Regions from separate parts of the Homo sapiens genome. Here region 1 is linked to region 2. The links are contacts of gene promoters, found by promoter capture Hi-C in human tissues and cell types (Jung and others, 2019). All regions are on one chromosome and are shown on one strand. Each heading gives the region's core, a stretch centred on a gene start or on the middle of the fragment in contact. The rest is flanking DNA. Distances are from core to core; before and after follow the strand shown.

Region 1 (3,721 bases), core at 742-3,241, 86 kb after region 2:
AGTATCATGGGGTTTTGAAGACATGTTGCCTGCGCCAGATAGCAACACTGGCTGTAGTTCTGAAAATATTAGCGTTTTTGTCCTGTGATTAATACTAAGATGTAAATAAAGTGGTTTTAGATAATTGTAGCAAATGATCCAGATATAACTGTGTGTTTTAGATCATTGTAGCCAATTATTTAGATACAACTCGGTGAGTACTTTTTAATTAAGAGCTCAAGATTTCTACACAGTATGTTCATTGTCTGCTTTATTTGTGGAAACATGAAACCTGATACTGGGTGAGGTAAGAAAATGGGTAGGTTTTACTATCACAAGGAAAAGGTAATATCCATACACTTTTGCCAAGGAGGCATGGATTAGTTAAATTGGCTTCTGGATCTTTGAGTTTGGGTATGATAGCCTTACGTTGAATTTTTTGGTTACTGCTTGATAATATTTATTTTAGTAATTGATTGTGTGTGTTAATGAACACTCCTGTCCTAAAAGCAAAAATGAAGTGGTTCAAGGGAGCATGAATTGTTAACATCTCCTTTAAACAAATAGGCTAGGTTAAAATTTCTTTACAGAGCTTTATGGTATTACATGTGACTTTATTACACTATTACATGTCAACAAAAATGGCAGAAGCTCTCTTAACTGACTTGCCAGATGTATTAGCTCTCTCCATTCACTCAATAAAATGTCCATTTTATTGAGTTTTAATCCATTCGGAATCAATTTAGAAATACTATCTTATTTAATCTGTACCCTGTTTAAGCTGGCGACTGGATTATAAGAGTATGTGTATTAAATATTTTAGAAGGATAGGTTCTTTTAAATAAATAAAAATTATCACACAGGATGTCTTAAACTTTTTAAAAAGAGATCTGATTTTAGATTTTGTTAAAATACTAGCCTACATAAGTATTCTTTTTATGAAATAAATACTCATATAAACTGTTTTTCCAGAAATTGACCCTGAATAGAGATTTCAGATCGTTGAAAACGGAACCATTTGAAAACTGCATTTCCTTTTCCTAATTTATTTCAGTTACTCAATAGGATTTTCTCATGGAATTAACTTTTCTCTCAGCGTAGTTACATAAGCTTACTCTTGTAATCATGAAAAATAATTACCCATTTCAGCACTTACTAACGTGGACTTTACTTGAAGGGTCTCTGGTTTTAAAGTTAGAGCACATGACTAGAGGCAGATGAAGAGTACCTCATCATTCATGGCCACTGAGTCTCTATAATTTTTAAATGCCTTTGGAAAGCTAGATCTTATACTCAAAAGCATGCTTTTGTGTTAGAAATCTTTTAGTGAACTACTTACTCGGGTGATAATGCTTTTAAAGCCCTGCTTTTCTCAGAATAAACTGAATTACGTGTTACCAATAACAATGCCACATCATTTCAAAGGAAACTGAATTAAGTAATCCAAGTCCAGGTTGCTGAAAACTAGATGACACAGGGTAGGCACTGTTTTGGTTACCATGCCAAGGATCTCTATTAGTCAGCTTGGGCTGCCATAATAAAATACCATAGAACTGGGTGGCTTAAACAACAGAAACTTATTTTCTCACGGTTCTGGAGGCTAGAAGCTGCAGATCAGGGTGCTGCTGGTTCGGTTCCTGATGAGGGCTTTCTTCCTGGCTTATAGGTTTGCTAACATCTTGTCCTCATGTGGCAGAGTGAGAGTACCGTAGTCTCACCTTCTCTTCTTAAAATGACACCAGTTCTATCAGATTAGAGTCCCACCCCTATGACCTTATTTAACTGTTACTACCTTCTCACAGGCCCTGTCTCCAAATTTAGCTACATTAGGGTTTAAAGATTCAATATGTAAATTTTGAGAGGGCACAAACATTCAATCCATAAAAGAATCTAGTATAATTAACAAGGATTGTTGAGCCCTGATATCTTGTTATACCTGCCTGTGTCCCTTCCCCCATTCCCCTCCACTCTAATTTCCTCACAAACACTCAGATGATTTTTTTCAGATACTGTTTTTGTTACTTACCAAACTAGTAACATTATGAATTATAAATGTTATTAGCCATTGACTGCACTGACTGACCACAGTTGACTGGGAGGGCTAGATGGTGCATGGTGCCTTCTTTGTGGTGGAAGATATAGGTTGGAGAAATGTGGTTGGTAGCAAATGCTGTCTGGTTTGAACAGCTTTGGAGAAGTCTGGTTCTAGTTGGTTTCAGTTCTCTCCAGATGCCGTTTGAATCTAAACGAATTTTCTAGTTCTTATCATTACAGAATTGTCTTCTGGAACAATTATTTCTTTTTATTATGTGGTAGCAATATGGATGTAGTTTTGTGAATCATTAAGGCATTTTAAGTCATCTTCCACTCTCTTTTATTTTTCAACTCTTTTAGGTTGTTTGAGGGACGTTCATCAAGGAAACCAGATAAACTTAAAACGCTCCTCTGCTTCTTTAGAACAGTCACAGAGAAAAGTAAACTCCTTTCATTCTTACCGTAATTTTTCTTGATGATGGGAACAGTTCAAGTCAAGTGACATGTGAGGAACATTTTGTGTTTAACGTAAACCTTCCTCTCCCAACCACATTGAAACAGTAGTAATGATGCGACAAGATAACCTAGATTTTATGCTTATGTTGTGTATAAGCATAAATGTGTGCTATAAATGTAAGGGGACGGGGTTTACATACTCTGAAATTGGACCCATATTCTCTGAAATCTGTAGTATACATCAAAAGATTTTCATGAATAAAAACCAGAGAAAGTATATTGACCAGGAAATAAATTTTGGATGCTCTTTACTTAAAGAAACGTTCAGTAGTTTATTTGCATAAGTCAACTGACACGTTGCTTTTCTACCCATTCCTCTCTTTTGTGCCCCCCTAAGCCCTTTGTGGAGCTCTTATAAAAACTTTTGTACTGAGTTTTGTATCTCCTTCTTCCTCTATTGAACTTTAACATTCTTGCTTCCCCAAAACCCGATAGCAGCTGAGACAGTAATAGTAAATGTCCAACAAATACTGGTAATGACCAGCTGATAATAGATTGGTATTGCCACTCTTATCTCAGAAGCTGAATGACCATGGTCAAGTTTCTTGACACCTCTAAGCTTCAGTTTTATCATCTATGAAATAATATACTAATGGCCATTACCTTACAGGGTAGTTATAGATATTAAGAAGATACATGCTTAATAAATGTAAGCTATTGTCAATTGGTAGCCTTTCCTACAAGTGGATGTAAACCAGAACACCTCAAAAGTTTCTTTGTGCTAAGTAGGTAATGTCAACCTGGTCAAGTGAAATGGCTTTTTTTCAGTTCTGGGTTGTAGGATTGTCTGAAAACATGTCTTTGAATAATTTTAAGGTCATTTTTCTCATATCCTTCTTTTACTCTTGCATTACAATGTACTTGGCATCTTCTCCTTTGAATGTATTGCTATTGGACATTGTTAAATTTTTAGAATGAAATCAATTATCAAGATTTTGATATTTAAGGGAAAATTATATGCTTCTTTGATATGGAATTATTTATCTCATAGCTTATTGAATTTCAGTTTTGTGTCCTGTGCTGAATGAAATATTAAAATGCAGAATCATTTGGACCTCTGAGACACAAAATCAAATTAGAATTTGTAATGACTTGTTAAAAAGATGACTACGTAAGGCCAGGTGTTGGTGGATCACGAGGTCAGGAGTTCCAGACCAGCCTGGTCAAGATGGTGAAACCCCGTCTCTACTAA
Region 2 (3,565 bases), core at 367-2,866:
TGGTTCCAAGGTTTCCCACGCCCCTGTAATTTCTGCAGCATTGGCGGGTTGGGTGGGAGTCTCCGGTCACCTTTCCCGCAGATCAGATCGCCCCGTCTAACTGGACTGTTCCTACTCTCAGGGGCACTCCTTCTTGTATGCTGAACTTCTAAAAGGAGGCCAGCGGGGGGCTGGCTCTCTGTAAACGGTGGGGCTGCGTTCATTGGCGTCCAGGGTTTCTTCTAAATGTAACTGCTTTGATTCCGCCTATCCCTAGGATTTCAAGTCACCGGTTCCACCCAGGTTTGGGTTCGACTGGACTTTCACCCTAAGTTCAATGGTAGCCCTGCTCCCAGGCCGCCGCAGCCCTCTTAGCCTCTGCCCGCAAGCCCTCTTTGGATGAACTGACCTGCTCCCTTTGGTATTCACACCCTCCCCCTCCAATCAGGCAATAACAACCTGGGGTCCAATTTTTAAACAGCCAGGCTCCGACATTTTCTTTCCCGCCCAACTCTCCACGCTGACACTTCTGAGGGTGGGGTGCCGGAAAAGGTGTCCCTCAGGCGGTGACGGACCGCACCCACAGGACATACAGGGCACACCCCTCCCAGGTGAAGGCCAGCGGCCCCCGGGGAGTTGAGGCTGAGGGAGGTCACTTCGGCTTCGCGACACCGTGAGCGCTTATCAGGAGTTCTCAGTAGGAAGCGCTTTCCTGCAGCCTCAGGCAGAGACCGTGCGTGCAAGGCGGGACCGACCGCAGGTGCAGAGGCCCCGGGCCTGCCCAAGGTCAGTCGAGGCGCGCGGATCGCTCTCGCCGCCACCCCCCACCCCCCACCCCCCATCTCCTCCACCCCCACCCCGCACACGGGGCAGAAGGACTGCGGCCAAGCAAACGATGGCCTCATTTCCAGATCGAATTGGTCGCAAATACGTTCCCTCGCCAGAAACTTTAAAAGGCCAGAAGAAAATAAACCGGATTCAGCTCCCTCTCATCTCCAAATCTCGGTTGGTAATACTAATGTTTCTCTTGCTGATTTTTTTTTCTTTTTTAACGAAACCTTCTCCCTTGTAAAAGCTGCGCACTTCTACCCAACCGCGCAAAGCGCGGCGGGAGCTTCGGTGGCGCTGCGCGCGTCAAGTGGGCCCCGCGCGCAGCTTTGGGACCAGCGAACCAAGAGCCGTCCCCCCCTGCCCCGCTGCCTACATCTGACCCCAGTTGGGAACCCAGTTTTTCCTCCATAGTCCTGTAGACTGTTCCCCTCATTCTGTTGGTCTAGAAGGGCACAAAGGACCGGAGGTGGGAGGGGACTTCCCTGGCTTAGTCCCCGCCCTGCGCCTGCTGCCCCGATGCTCCCAGAACCTGCGCAGCTAGCGGATCCCGTCCGACAGCTGTGCTGGGCGCCCGAGAGAGCGCACGGCTCAGCCCACCCCGTCCCTTCCCCGGCCAGGAGCCACTCACAAACTCAAAGATGAAGAGCAAGTCGGGCAAGGTGGTGAAGACCGAGAAGCCACTGGGCAGGGTGCTGCCCCCCGTCGCCGCTGCGGGGGCCATGACGGCGTGCTGGCGTCGGCCTTGGGACGGGACGAGCGCCGCTCAGACTCCGCGCAGACCTCTCGCTGGCTCCGCGGAGCCCAGTGGCCTGGGCGCCCCCGCGCGCGGGTTAAGAGCAGGGGAGCCCGGGGCAGAAGAGGGAGGAGCCCCGGCCGCCGCCCAACCCCGCCCCCCGCCCCACGCCCCGGGAGACCCGGCCCGAGCGCCGCGGGCACCGCCCTGAACCTCTTCGAGGCCCCGCTGCGGGCGTCCAGAGCTGGGGACTGTGGGTCTGACTCCTGCGTTCCAGCCGTGGGTGCCACCTCTTGCGGGAAGCAGGGCAAAACCACTTTGGTCAGGCGCTCCTCGTGCCTTTCTCCCTTCGTAGGTGACCAGCATCTCGTAAGAATGATAACCATCAGTAACCGGGACCCCAAACCTTCTCATCAAGGCACCTCTCGGGTCACCATTACTTTAACTTTGAATTTGGGTCTCCTTCATTTTTCCGCTGGATGCGTTAATGTGCGCGACCCACAGCTCCAGGCGGCGGTTTCCTGGCGGAACTGGACCACCGCCACAGGCTGGGGGTCTGCAGTGGGGGATGGGACCGGCCGCGGCCGCCGGCCCCTTCCGCGTCCACTGAGCCGGCGCTGGTTCGGCGCTGGGATCCTGCACCGGGCCTCTCTGCTTGGTGCTGCGCGTCTGCCTGAGAGTAGGAGGTTGCTCCCAGCTGTGCCGGCCCCAGCAGAAGGCTGCTGGTGGTGGTGCTGGGGCAGGTCGGCCTTGAATCCATGCGACAGGAAGGGACGTTACCAGAAGAGATTCATCGCTTTCTCTTGGTCTGGGCAGCCCGGGCCTTTTGAGGGTGGGACCGCTGCTACCCCCACCCCCAGGTTCTTTGCCTGCCTGTTGACTGCCGGTGTTTCATGTTTTGTTTCTCTGTTTCACTATTTTTTATTTTTTGCCTTAAAAAAAAAAGTATTACCATGCAGCAGTTGCCCATTTATTTTAATTTACTATTAATAGTGTGATTGCTGTGTTTCCTCCTACAAACACTGAAGCCTGAAATCCGCCCGAGTCCGGATTCTCGCCTGCCAAAAGGGAATTGGCCCCGCAACCTCCAGCTTAGACTCCCAACTCTTCTTTCTTTCCATTGGCAGCTGCTGCAGGCAGGACAAGGGGCTCCCCTTCTCTCCAGTGGGGCCTTCACCTCTCCCTGCTGCACAATTCTTCCTCCTTCCCAGTCCCTAGGGAGAGAAGTATATTCGTGGACGCATTTTCCAAAGCAAAAGTAGCACGCCCATCAGCTGGCCATTCTAAGTGCCTCTGGAAAGGGGCCAGGCATTTGAAATGAGAAAACCCCACTGTGCCTCTGTGAGCTGCCAGCCCGGACGGCTGCAACCAAGGTGCCATTGTGTCGGGTCCCCAGGGCAGCATCTCTCTGGACACAATGGGCTGTGGGACTTTAGGAGCCCAGGTCCTCATCCACCTTGGGCATCTCATAGCTCGTTAGTTGGACCTGCTGGCCTCTGAGAGGACATCTTCTTCCTCCCCAGGAGACCGTCCTGGGAACAAGCCTTAAAGCAAGGTGGCCACAGGAAGCCGCAGCCTGAAGAGAGGTGAGATGACCCTCAGGCAGTCCAGCGAAAGCTGCTTGGAGATTTCCTATCAGCACATACTAATTAAGAACAAGAAGATCCTATCAACTCCTAATAATGTCCTTACCTGGCCTGGAGGGCTTTTGTTTGTGGTTTGGTTTGGTGATTTCCTACTTATTTCAAGCCTTTGTTGCTAACTCATTCCTACTTGGGCCTGAGCCTTTGGGGAAAGCTCGCTCCCAGGGGCAACTCAGTGGAGCTCAGCAGTCCCAGCCCTCCTTTGATAAGGCAGAGGGGCAGCAATCTCTGAAAGAGGCTTCAGAGGATGAGGAAGGCAGCCCGGCCAGGGTCAAGGGGGTTTGTCCCTATCTCTGTGACCCCCTCCTCCCACCTGGAGTTCTCCGCTCGACGTTCATCTTCCTGACCAGACTCTACCCTCGGCAGGGCATCCTCCAGC

What was found. Contacts are between HindIII fragments. The study calls those that stand out against the background at their distance.
Region 1: a contact is called between a fragment that was not itself captured here and the fragment with the promoter of MAL in region 2, in 2 of the 25 tissues and cell types used here (aorta and stomach).

Annotation. Positions count from the first base shown.
Region 1 is chr2:94,938,113-94,941,833 of GRCh38, reverse strand. All of the region lies in intron 1 of LOC442028 (a long non-coding RNA gene), which reads left to right. Among named protein-coding and RNA genes, the nearest start is that of TEKT4, 69 kb to the right of the region's middle. The HindIII fragment of the contact is 5,057 bases long and covers 1-3,721 here.
Region 2 is chr2:95,023,759-95,027,323 of GRCh38, reverse strand. It overlaps MAL (mal, T cell differentiation protein (MAL blood group)), which reads right to left and starts at 1,616. Exons shown (of 4, transcript NM_002371.4): 1 at 1,439-1,616. The coding sequence starts at 1,531. It overlaps MAL-AS1 (MAL antisense RNA 1), which reads left to right and starts at 295. Exons shown (of 8, transcript XR_007087136.1): 1 at 295-765; 2 at 891-984; 3 at 3,067-3,129. RefSeq lists an enhancer at 509-1,232 and a silencer at 1,587-1,716. The HindIII fragment of the contact is 10,437 bases long and covers 1-3,565 here.